Linked DNA regions of Homo sapiens: region 1 is linked to region 2. Evidence: promoter capture Hi-C in human tissues and cell types (Jung and others, 2019). All regions are on one chromosome and are shown on one strand. Each heading gives the region's core, a stretch centred on a gene start or on the middle of the fragment in contact. The rest is flanking DNA. Distances are from core to core; before and after follow the strand shown. Region 1 has its middle 6.7 kb from the start of HCRTR1. Region 2 holds the start of SERINC2 (serine incorporator 2).

The links. Contacts are between HindIII fragments. The study calls those that stand out against the background at their distance.
Region 1: a fragment that was not itself captured here is called in contact with the fragment with the promoter of SERINC2 in region 2 in 1 of the 25 tissues and cell types used here (IMR-90 fibroblasts).

What each region holds. Positions count from the first base shown.
Region 1 is chr1:31,607,883-31,614,024 of GRCh38, forward strand. No RefSeq gene overlaps it. Among named protein-coding and RNA genes, the nearest start is that of HCRTR1, 6.7 kb to the right of the region's middle. The HindIII fragment of the contact is 7,167 bases long and covers 1-5,641 here.
Region 2 is chr1:31,410,956-31,416,907 of GRCh38, forward strand. SERINC2 (serine incorporator 2) reads left to right here and starts at 2,258. Exons shown (of 10, transcript NM_178865.5): 1 at 2,258-2,349. The coding sequence starts at 2,311. RefSeq lists enhancers at 2,006-2,506, 3,777-4,325 and silencers at 2,073-2,142, 2,223-2,282. The HindIII fragment of the contact is 9,558 bases long and covers 1-4,548 here.

The DNA.
Region 1 (6,142 bases), core at 808-3,307, 200 kb after region 2:
CAAGAAAATTCCCCAGGACATTAGACATAGGAAAATATTTCTTGAATTATATCCCACAAGCACTGGCAACCAAAGCAAAAATGGGCAAATAGGAATACATCAAGTTAAAACAATTCTGCACAGCAAAGGAAACAATCAACAAAGTGAAGATACAACCCACAGAACAGGAGAAAATACCTGCAAACTATCCATCCAACAAGGGATTAATGACAAGAATATATAAGGAGCTCGGCCTGGCGCGGTGGCTCACGCCTGTAATCCTAGCACTTTAGGAGGCCAAGGCGAGAGGATTGCCTGAGCTCAGGAGTTCAAGACCAGCTTGGGCAACACGGTGAAACCCCACCTCTACTAAAATACAAAAGAAATTAGCCGAGCATGGCAGCGTGCGCCTGTAGTCCCAGCCACTCGGGTGGCTGAGGCAGGAGAATTGCTGGAACCCAGGAGGCAGAGGTTGCAGAGAGCTGAGATCAGCCACTGCACTCAGCCTGGGCGACACAGCAATACTCCATCTCTACAAAAAAAAAAAAAAAAAAAAAAAGGAATATATAAGGAGCTTAAGCAACTCTATAAATCTAATAATCTGATTAAAATGGGCAAAAGACCTGAACAGACATTTCTCAAAAGAAGACATACAAATGGCAAACAGGCATATGAAAAGTTGCTCAACATCAGCAAACAAAGTTATCCCATCTTCATTCCACCTGCCTTGTTCCAGCTGCTGGCGGCCGACAGGATGGCATCCACCCACATTGAGGGTGGGTCTTCCTCTCTCAGTCCACCAATTCAAATGTCAATCTCCTCTGCCCACACCCTCACAAACACACCCAGAAACAACACCAGCCATCTAGGCATCCCTTTATCCAATCAAGTTGACACCTAATATTAACCATCATACCATACATAAGTACATAACAATAAAGTAGCAAGAAGATGCCACAAAAATTGAGATGTGGTATAAGAATAACAAAAGTTTAGAAAATACTCAAGTAAAAGCCTAGTGAGTAACAAGCCAGTATTTGCCATCAACACCCCACCCCCTAACAAATGCAGACATCTGGAACATACAGGGAGGGGAGAGATTTTTAAAGAGAGGGAACAGCTTTCTAAAAAAATTAAGTCATCTTGGACAGTCACAGTGGTTCACACCTGTAATCCCAGCACTTTGGGAGGCTGAGGCAGGCAGATCACCTGAGGTCAGGAGCTCAAGACCAGCCTGGCCAACATGGCGAAACCCCATCTCTACTAAAAACATAAAAATTAGCCGGGCATGGTGGCACGTGCCTGTAGTCGCAGCTACTCAGGAGGCTGAGGCAGGAGAATTGCTTGAACCTGGGAGGCGGAGGTTGCAGTGAGCTAAGATCGTACCACTACACTCCAGTCTGGGCGACAGAATGAGACTCCGTCTCAAAAAAAAAAAGAAAAAAAAAAGTGAGTGATATTTTTCCTAAGGACTAGAGTGCCTACAGGGAGTGTTGATGTCTAGAGTAAATCCCTCCTTATGTGGCCCAGGGTGGAGGCTGGAGTGTCTGTTTGTGTATCTGCCCTCTGCCACATACCCTAAGCCTGCTGGTTCATGCTCACCAACTCAGTCAGTGAAAGGACAACCTAAAGACATTTTCAGACATGCCAAGATTCAGAAAGCTTTCCTTCCATGCACCCCTTTTAAAAATGTTATTTGAAAATATACTTGAGATAAAGGGACATAATTCAAGAAAGAGAGACATAACAGATTCACAAAACAGTGGAATTAACCCAGTAGCACAGTGAATAGAAATACCAGAGGTCCATAAAGCCATCCATCAAAATTAGAACAGGAAGTCAGAGGGTTTGGAGAAGAACGTCTTTAGGAAGAAAATGGGCTTCATTCAACAAATAATGTAATTAAGAAGCTGGAAGATTTTAATGACTTGACTTAAAAGGCATATGTTTCTTCTCTCAAGGAGAAAAGAGGAAAGCAATTAGAAACTTCATGAGAACAAGAAATTGTGTAAGAAAGTCATGGTCCAAATATGAAGTGAATTAAAATGTCTTATGACTCTGAATAGCTGAGGGAGTGGAGGAGAATAGACTTGAGCTTGAAGCCTGGATCATTTCTCTTTGAGCAGTATTTAAACTGTGAGATTATAGTTCCTTCTCTATGTGTCCCAGGATTCTATTTGGCTCTGTAGAGAATAATGTTTATATAATCATAATATTGTTTAAGAACACTTTATTGATTTTCAATATTTGAAATTCAGAGATAGACAATACACAAAACTAGAACATTTTAATTATGGATATAGAACTAGATGCAAATGTAGCAGTTTAGCAAAAGGAATTAGGAGAGAAAGCAAGAGTGATGTCTCGTCTTACACAGTGGGGAGTTAACAGATAGTGCATGAAATTAATGGCACAAGAAAAAACAGCTGGAAATATTTGTATCTAACCAAACTCTGGAGGGAAGTTACCTTTGCTAAGTTCATCTCTTTTCTTTCTTTTTCTTTTTCCTTTCCTTTTTTTTTTTTTTTTTTTTTTTTTGACAGGGTCTTGCTTTGATGCCCAGGCTGGAGTGCAGTGGTGCAATCACAGCTCACTGCAGCCTCAATCTCCTGGGCTCAGATGATCCTCCCACTTCAGCCTCCCAAGTAGCTGGGACTACAGGCACCTGCCACCAAGCCCAGCTAATTTTTTGTATTTTTTGTAGAGATGACGTTTTCCCATGTTGCCCAGCCTGGTCTTGAACTTCTAGGCTCAAGTGATCTGCCAGCCTTGGCCTCCCAAAGTGCTGGGATTACAGGTATGGGCATTACAGGTGTAAGCCACCACACCCGGCCATAAACTCGTCTTTCATAGTAGGAATTGTTTCCGATGCTGTTAGTTCTTCAATAACCACCCCTTCCTCTATCTTTAGTCACAGAACTCTTACATCTCAGCTGGACACCACCTGACATGGCTACCCAGACAAAAATTATATTTCCCAGCCTCCATTGCAGCTACATGTGATCAGGTGACCAAATTTAGGTCAACTTGATGTTAGCAGAAGTGATGTGCCTTTCCACTTAGTTGAATTATGGACGTGACCAGCCATCTCTGACGTAAGTTGAGAGTTTTTTAATTTTTGTGACAGAGTCTTGCTGTGTCACCCAGGCTTGAGTGCAGTGGCATGATCTCGGCTCACTGCAACCTCTGCTTCCCAGGTTCAAGTGATTCTCATACCTCAGCCTCCTGAATAGCTGGTCTTACAGGTGTGTACCACCACACCTGGCTAATCTTTGTATTTTTAATAGAGACAGGCTTTCACAACGTTGGGCAGGCTGGTCTCGAACTCCTGACCTCAAGTGATCCACTCACCTTGGCCTCCCAAAGTGCTGGGATTACAGGTGTCAGCCACTCCACCCAGCCTAGGCCAAGAGTTTTGCCATAAATATTATAATAGTAGCTAACAGTTATATACATGCTAAGTATCCATCAGGCACCTTTCAAAGTGTTTTGCATGTATTAACTCATTTAACCCAATGGGGATATGTAGTCACTTCCTATTGCTGCTGTAACAAATTAACCACAAACTTAGTGGCTTCAAGCAACACAAAGTTATTCTTCTACAGTTCTGGAGGTCAGACATCTAAAATCAGTGTTTCTTTCCTTCTGGAGACTCAGGAAAATCCATTTCCTTGCCTTCTTCAGCTTCTACAGGTCACCTGCACTCCTTGGCTTGTGGGCCTTTCCTCTTATCACCACGACCACTTGCTTCCATCCTCACATCTCCTATCACTACTCTGACCTCTTGCCTCCCTCTTATAAGGATCATTGGATTTCATGGAGCCCACCCAAATAATCCAGGATAATACCCCCAACTCAAAATGTTTAGTTTAATCACTTCTGCAAAGTCCTTTTTGCCACGTAAGGTAACATTCAAAGATTCTAGAGATTAGGACTCAGACATCTATTATTCTCCCTACCACAGATGGGTACTATATCATCCCCTTTTACAGACAATGAAACTCAAAATAGAGAAGCTAAATAGCATGCCCAGGATCACACAGCTGGTAAGTGGCAGATCCATGGTTTAAACCCATACAATATGGTCCTAGAATCTGTTCATGTAACCATGATACTCTTCTATCCTGGCAGAATTCTGGCTTTCTGATGACATTGGAGTTGCCTGACCAGCCCTGGAGAGAGAAATACACCTTTTTTTTTTTTTTTTTTGAGACCAAGTCTCATTCTGTCGCCCAGCTGGAGTGCAGTGGCATGATCTCGGCTCACTGCACCTCCGTTCCCTGGGTTCAAGCGATTCTCCTGCTTCAGCCTCCCGAGTAGCTGGGCTTACAGGCACAAACCACCACGCCCAGCTAATTTTTGTATTTTTAGTAGAAATTTTTTTAGTGGAAAACTTTAGTAGAATTTTTTTATTTTTGTACTTTTAGTTTCACCATGTTGACACCAGGCTGGTCTCAAACTCCTGACTTCAAGTGATCCACCCGCCTTGGCCTCCCAGAGTGCTGGGATTACAGGTGTGAGACACCTCGCCCAGCCAAGAAAAACACTTTCAACTTTCAAAGCCACTGTCATTTGGTGGGGCTCTTTGTTACAGTCACTATATTCAAATAAGGAGTCAATAGTAATCCACAGAAATAAAAATAATGCTTTTCATTTATTCTGAATGGTTTGAATATTTTACAAGGAAAATGTGTTATTAATTTCAAATCTGCTTAAGTTGCAGGACAAAACTGCCGACCTGTCTGTGTCGCACCTGGGTTAAACCCTCCCATCATCTTTGGGATAGATTGAGTTCAAGCACCTCAGCCTGCCCTGGAGGCCAGCGTTTCACCCATCTTTTTGTTTCTCATTGCTCCTCTTCATGGGTACACTCTCAGGCCAAACTAGTATTTGTGGCATACTAGCTTGCAGCAGGCCTTTCACCATGTCCACCCCATGCCTGTGCTCATGCTGTCCCCTCTACCCGGAATACTGCCCCTTCTTCCTCTCCCACTCCTGCCTAGCATGTCTCATTCAAAGGCTAGCTGTGAGCTCCTGTTCACCCCTCAATACCTAGCCCAAATTGCCTCTGGAAATTTTTTCTGTTTATCTTGGTCTTTCTCTGCCCTGCTAAATATTTTCCTTAAATGTCTGGTGATCCAGGTTATAGTTTGAAACCCCAGCTCCCCACCTTTCCCACCACACACACACACACACACACACACACACACACACACACACACTTCCCAGGAAGAACAGGCCCCTCCTCTTTCCTTCCCCCACTTGTGTGTCCCTGTGTCAAAATAATCATACCAGCACACATTTACTATGGCCATTGTTTATTACTAATATTATTTATTATTTTAGGGTTTAGATCTTTTGCAGCCCCCAGCACCAATACATGGCTAAAAACAATACCAAATGCCACTTAAGTGTCACGATGTCTGACAAATGATGACCACTTGGACTTCTTAAAATGTTAAATTATTTTTAAATATGTGCATGTGTATGATTATGTCTGTCTGTGCCAGGACCCTTAATTTAGCCACATCTGCAAAGCCCCTTTTGCCATGGAACATAGCCACATGTTCTGGGGGTTAGGACGTGGACATCTTTGGGGGCCATTTTAGCCTATCACAGAGATGAAGGAAGTGACCAGCCCAAGATCACCCAGTAGTAAGCAGCAGAGTGGCAGTCTAATCCCTGTCTTCCTGACCCCAAAGCCTGGCTCCTGACCTCTCCTCAACACCAGGGGCGGGGTGGGGGCAGGTGGGAGGAGATGTGTTTTCTGTGGTTTCTGTGCCTTGTTGTTGGTGCTGTCCCATTCTGCCCCCACCCTGCCTCCACAGGCTCCATCCTGATGCATTTCACACCACCCCTATCCACTCGTCTCCATGAGGGTCTCCCTAGCCTAACCAGGAGAGTCTCCGTCTCTGCAGCCTACCCAGCCTCCGAGTTTGTTTGTTGAGTGAGTATACGGGTAAGTGGACAGACAGAAGGCTGCCAGCTCCAGCCCCTTCTTCCTGGCTCCTGCCACTGGCTTGAAGATGCTCTCTAGGCCAGGAGTGGTGGCTCACACCTGTAATCCCAGCACTTTGGGAGGCCAAAGCAGGAGAATCACTTGAGCCCAGGAAGTGGAGGTTGCAGTGAGTCATGATCGTGCCATTGCACTCCAGCTTGGGCA
Region 2 (5,952 bases), core at 1,008-3,507:
GATTTCCGTGCAGAAGATGACTGTGTAGGGTATGTTTTTGGATCAGACTGTCAGTCACAGAAGAAGGAGGAAAGTGGACTTATGGTAAAAGGTCAGACATTCATCCAGTAAGCATTCACTGCTTGACTGTGTGCCAGGCCCTGTACTGTGCTCTGGGTAGGAGAGGGGGTGGCCAGAGAGCAGACCGTTCTTGGGTGGCTCACAGTCCCCTAAAGGCCTCGGGTTAGGGAAGGACTGAAATATTGCTGGACAGAAAAATAGGAAGACTAGATATTGTCACCTCTACTTTTTCAAGGGAAGCAGTAGGACATCAGGGTGAAAGCCAGGCCAGGTTGCCTTTCAGCTCTGTTTCTTCTGAGCTGTGTGGCCTTCAGCAATAGTAACAACAACCACAGTGATCACAGTCAACGTTTATTCGACGCTTGATTTACATTTCGCGTGTCACTACTTCTTTGTTTCTCGGTTTCCTCATCTGTAAACGAGTGGGTGGGGAATTAATCGACTTCTCAGGGCTGTTGTGGGGCTCAAATGGTACCACGGGGGAAAGTTGGGCATGTGCTCGGGTTGTTTGTGAGGCCATAAGGGAGGCCCATATTGTTTGGAGGCTTGGGGGAATCAGGAGGATGTTCATTCCTAATGGAACCAGGTAGTGGGTTGGGGGTGAGGGTGGTGGCTCTCTTCACTGAGAGGTATGGCATGTGAGCAAGCTTCAAAGGGGAGAAAGAGGGATAAGGAGAAGGACCTTTAAGAGGAGGGCATCTGCCAGGTGCAGTGCCTCACATCTGTAATACCAGCACTTTGGGAGGCCAAGGCAGGAGGATTGCTTAAGCCCAGGAGTTCGAGACTAGCCTGGACAACATAAGGAGACCTCATCTCTACACAAAATTTTTAAAAAATTAGCTGGGTGTGGTAGTACACACTGGTGGTCACAGCTACTTGGGAGGCTGAGGTGGGAGGATCACTTGGGTCCAGGAGGTTGAAGCTGCAGTGAGCCATGATTGGGCCACTGTGTTCCAGCCTGGGTGACAGAGTGAGACCCTGTCTCAAAAAAAAAAAAAAAAAAAAAAAAAAAGAGGAGGGCATTGTGTGGGCAAAAGTGCGGAGGAGGAAAAGTATAGGGTGTGTTTGTGGAACAGTCCTGGTGCAATTAATGGCTAAGCCTGGCGCCCAGTGAATCAGCCAAGGATGCAGTCAACCAGCTCTTTGGCCCTGGGGCCAGCTTCGAGGCACAGAGACTTCTTTCCCTAACATTATCTTGTCCAGAGGTGGCTGAGGACAGGGCTAAGGGTGAAGGGAGACTAATTACAGAGCCCTACTTCTGGGTCTCTCACACCTACCCCTGGAAAGCCATCTGTCAGGAATGTGGCCGCCCCTCCCCACCTTCTGACCTCCTTAGCTAGGGACCAGTTTGGGCATCCCTAGGGAGTGATAAGCCACCAAGCAGGGGTGGCTGTAGGGAGTGTGTAGCTCCCAGCAGGCTGTTGGGAGTCAGTGGAGTTTGAAGAACAGATGGAGAGAAGGGAGGATGGGTTTAGAGTGAGAGGCTGGGGTCTTAGAAGAAGCAGTAGGTGGGCATGGTGGCATGCACCTGTAGTCCCAGCTACTCAGGAGCCTGAAGCAGGAGGATCACTTGAGCCCAGGAGGTCGAGGCTGCAGTGAGCTATGTTTGCACCACTGCACTCCAGCCTGGGTGACAGAGCAAGACCCTGTCTCTTAAAAAGGAAGAAGAAAACAGTGACGATGGGGGCTTACATTTGTCAAGCACCTACCATGTGTTGTAACCACCCTGTGAGGTATGTATCCTCACTTTACAGACCGGGAAACTGAGGCTCATAGAGGTGCAGTGACTTGCCGAAGTTTCTTTATCCAGTCATTCAGCATTCAACCTCAGCATCTACGTATTGAGCAGAGGCCCTGCGCCAAGCACTGAGGAGTCAGCGGTGACCACCTCTTGGCTTCTGTTCCCAAGGGTGACAGTGTCCTGGGGTCACACGGGCTCAAACCGAGGTCGATTTCCGAACGCTCACTTTGGAGCAGGATGCGAGCCCGGGCCACGATTGGGTCAGGTTGCGCCGCTCGCGTGGCCGCGGGAATCCCCGACCGGCCCCTTCCCTAGGGTCCCTCCTGGCGCACCTGCCCCAGGTGAGTCTGGGGAGGCCCCGAGCGCCGCCGGAAAGCGTCGAGCGGCTTCGGTAGGTGGGGCGGGGCCGGGGCGGGGCCGGGGCCGGGGAGGGGCCAGGCCCGGCACCCGGATCCCGAGGTCCGCGCCCCGCGCCCGGCGCCGGGCGCCCGAAGCCGGGAGCCGCCGCCATGGGGGCCTGCCTGGGAGCCTGCTCCCTGCTCAGCTGCGTGAGTCCCGACCCCGGCGCCCGCCCGCGCGCGCCGCCCGTTCCTGCTGCGGGCCCTCACTTTCTTCTGTTCTGCTCCGAGTAGTTTCTTCTTTTTCCTTCCTGCAAACTTGTCTTTCTGGGCCGGTGCCCCGCCTGCTCGCCCTCCTGGACCTTCACTCGGCACCCGGATCCCGCTGCCCCCGTCCCCCTGCTCAGTCCTGGCCGGCAGGCGCCGGGCAGCTGCGGTCCCGGCTCGGGTTTCCGCGGGCAGGAGGGGAGTGCCCTCGGCGGGCGCCCTCCTGGGACCTGGAGAGACTAAGCCTGGAGCCCGGGGTCGGGGCAGCTCTGTGGGCCCTCGTCGCCCCACTTGGGGCGGTCCTCGGGGTGGCCTCTGTCCCCGTCCCGGACGCCCTGGTTCTCTGTGTAGGTCGCCCGGGCCCCGTCCCTCCTGGCGAGTGCCCTGCCCTACCCCTCTGGCCGCCTGCCAGTCCGCCTGTTCCTGTCGCTCGGGCTCCGCCTGTCCGTTCGTATTTGTCTGGTTCCTGTCTGTGTCCGTCGTTCGTCCGACTGTCTTTGTCCGTCTGCTGTCTTCTGTCCGTCTGCCCGTCCGCCCGTCCGTCCCTCAGTCTCTCTGCGGTCCCTTTACCGTCCTCAGTCTGGCTCGCGCTGCCTCTCAGGCACTTCCCCAGCTCGCCCCGGATCATCTGGGCCCCAGCGCGGAGACTGGGATGGGAGCGGAGGGAGCCCCGGACTTTCTTAGCTGCCCTCGAGTGAGGCGGGTGCGGGTCGTCACGGACCACCGGGCGGAACTCTGGGTTGGGAGAGCAGGAATCGAGGGAGGTTCGGGTGTGCGCGGGGAGTGCCCGGTCGCGGGTTCGGGACCTGTGGGGAGGCCAACCTCTGTTCTGTAGCTGCAGCCGCAGAGGGGAGGGGCTCCAGCAAGACCCCGGCTGGGAGGCCCGTTCTCCCTTCCCTTTCCCCAGCCCCCCTCTCCTTTCCTCTTCCCCTCATTAAATCTGAGGTTCATTCAGGCAGCCCCCTCCCCCTCTGGCCCCACACAAAGAGGCCCTGAGAGGGAGAAGGGGCTGCAGCGGCTGCTGAATCTCGGGACTCGCTTTCCTTTGTCCCTGACGGGTTGTGTGTGTGTGTGTGTGTGTGTGTGTGTGTGTGAGAGAGAGAGAGAGAGAGAGGAGGGGGTGTAGGGGAGAGCTGAGGGTCTAGAGATTTACTTTACAGCCTTTTTCTGAGAATGAGATCAGCATAGACAGCACAGAGAGGCAAGAGAGCCTCTCGCCTCATTAGGCCTCCATTTTTCGTGTGTGTGTGTGCGTGTGCATGTGCGTGTGCAGGAGGAGGAATCAAGCTGGTGCCTGAAATCCCTCCCAGCCCAAAGAATTCAAGGTTTGGGCCAGGTCTCTGCCAACAAGGGTTTGCTTCCTGGTGAGGGAGGCAGAGCTTCCACAGTGGACCTGATTTCCATCGGTTGCACCTGGTGAGGCACAGGCCCTGCTGGGCTGGCCTGGGGGTGGAGATGTTGAGGGGCAGCCTGCCAGCCCTGTGTGCCTTGGTCACCCCATCTGGCAGTTGACAGTAACAGGGCCTTTCTCACAATGCTGTTGGGAGATGAGGCACAGTTCCTGGCATATCGTGAGTGCTCCTTGTGGGAATTATTGCTAACATCAAGGAAAGGTGGGTGGAGAATTCCATTTGGAGACAATGCAAAGCCAAGTGCTGGTCTCTGAGTTACAGCATTCTACAATGCTGAGAGCAGATAGGACTGCTCAAACCATCTGTTTACAGATGAGAAGACTGCCACCCGCCCGGAGAAGATAGCTGACTTTCCTAAGGTTGCACAGGGAAAGGATGAAGAACTGCATAGTTAGGATCAACATCTGATTCCTGGTCCAGGCTTCTGCCCACACCTTCCCTCCCTTCCCCACATCCTGGCTGCCTGAGGCACAGGGCTGGTCCAGGGAAGAATTGGGAGATAACTTAGTGAGTAATATCAGCAAGGGACCCGGCCCTCCCTTCAGTGCCATCCCCTTGGGGTTCTGGCCTCCGACATTTACTGAGGTTCTGGCCTCTGACATTTACTGAGCCAGGTACTGTTCCGAGCCCCTCACCATGCCATCTCATTGGCTCTCCCCACCTCCTCTACCCTATGACATCGTTAGCCCATTTTACAGATAACTATCCCAACACTCGCAGCGTGGAGCTGTCCAGGAGTGGCCTAGGCCCCATACAGTAGTGAGCAGTATGTGTATGTGTGTGTATATATATATCTCCTTCCATTTAATCCTCACAAAGACCCCACTGGGGCAGTTAATATTGTTCCCATTTCACAGATGAGGAAACTGGCTCAGAGAGTGAAGGTGACTTCTCCACAGCCACACAACATTAAGTGGTGTAGTTGGGCACTACTGGACACCAGTACCATCCTGTTGCAGTGAAGAGTTGCTGCACAGGAGTGAAGTTCTATGTGGGGTTTCTGGGCAACTTCAGGAGGGATTTTTTTGCATGCATGGGTCAGTGGGGAAGATTTTTGTATCCTCCCAGGTGTGACTCATCTGCTGATTGTGCTTCTCAGCATTGGAACTGGGCTGAAGGTGAACTGGGCTGAAGGTGGGTCCTGCTTTGGATGGGGAGGTAAGATGGGTCCACAGGGGATGGGGCCACCAGGCAAGCCGCCGGCACATGATGACTTGGCTGTCTGCAAAGATTTCAGGAGGGTCTTGCACATCCTAGGGAGTGTGAAAGGCCTTTGGGTCAGACCACTGGACTCGGATCCTAGCTTTGCCTCTTCGCATCTCTGTGACTGTGGGCAGTCACTTTGCCCATCCCCTTGTCTGTAAAGTGGAGAAAACAATGGTGTCTGCCCCTTAGCCTGTTGTGAGGATTAAATGGGACTGAGGTTAGCACAGCTGCATATTTAGCACCAAGCTGGTGTGCAGTGGCCGGTCCATAAACACCCCACAGTAGTACATGACTCAAGACTACATGCAAGGAAGTGCTGAAGCCAGTGAGACCCAGGGCTGCCTAACTATAGAGCCTGGGCTCGGAGCCCCTGTACTCTCCTACCCCAGGAGATCATTTTACAGATGAGGAAACTGAGTCCCATGGAGGGGAGGAGAGACTTGCCTGAGGTCAGATTACAAGCTGTGGCAGAGCCAGCATTAGGACCTGCATTCTTGGCACTGCATGGGGGAAGTAAGTGCACCTTGGGACATTTCCGGCTGACCTCTTCTCTGCTGTGTTTTGACTAGCCCTGGGGCGGCTCAGCCAGTTACGGAGTTGTTCATGAAGGCGGCAAGGTGCATGCTTGCCTGGGCCAGTTTTGCATTTTTTAAACTGTGACGAAATACATGTTAAAAAATTTACTCTTTTAACCTTTTATTTTAGTCTTCAAGGAGTTTGTATGTTATTTCATTTTATTTTATTTTACTTTATTTTTTTGAGATGAAGTCTTGCTCTGTTGTCCAGACTGGAGTGCAGTGGCACCATTCTGGCTCACTGCAACCTCTGCCTCCAGGTTCAAGTGATTCTCCTGCCTCAGCCTCCCGAGTAGCTGGGATTACAGGCGTGCGCCACCATGCCTGGCTAATTTTTGTGTTTTTAATAGAGA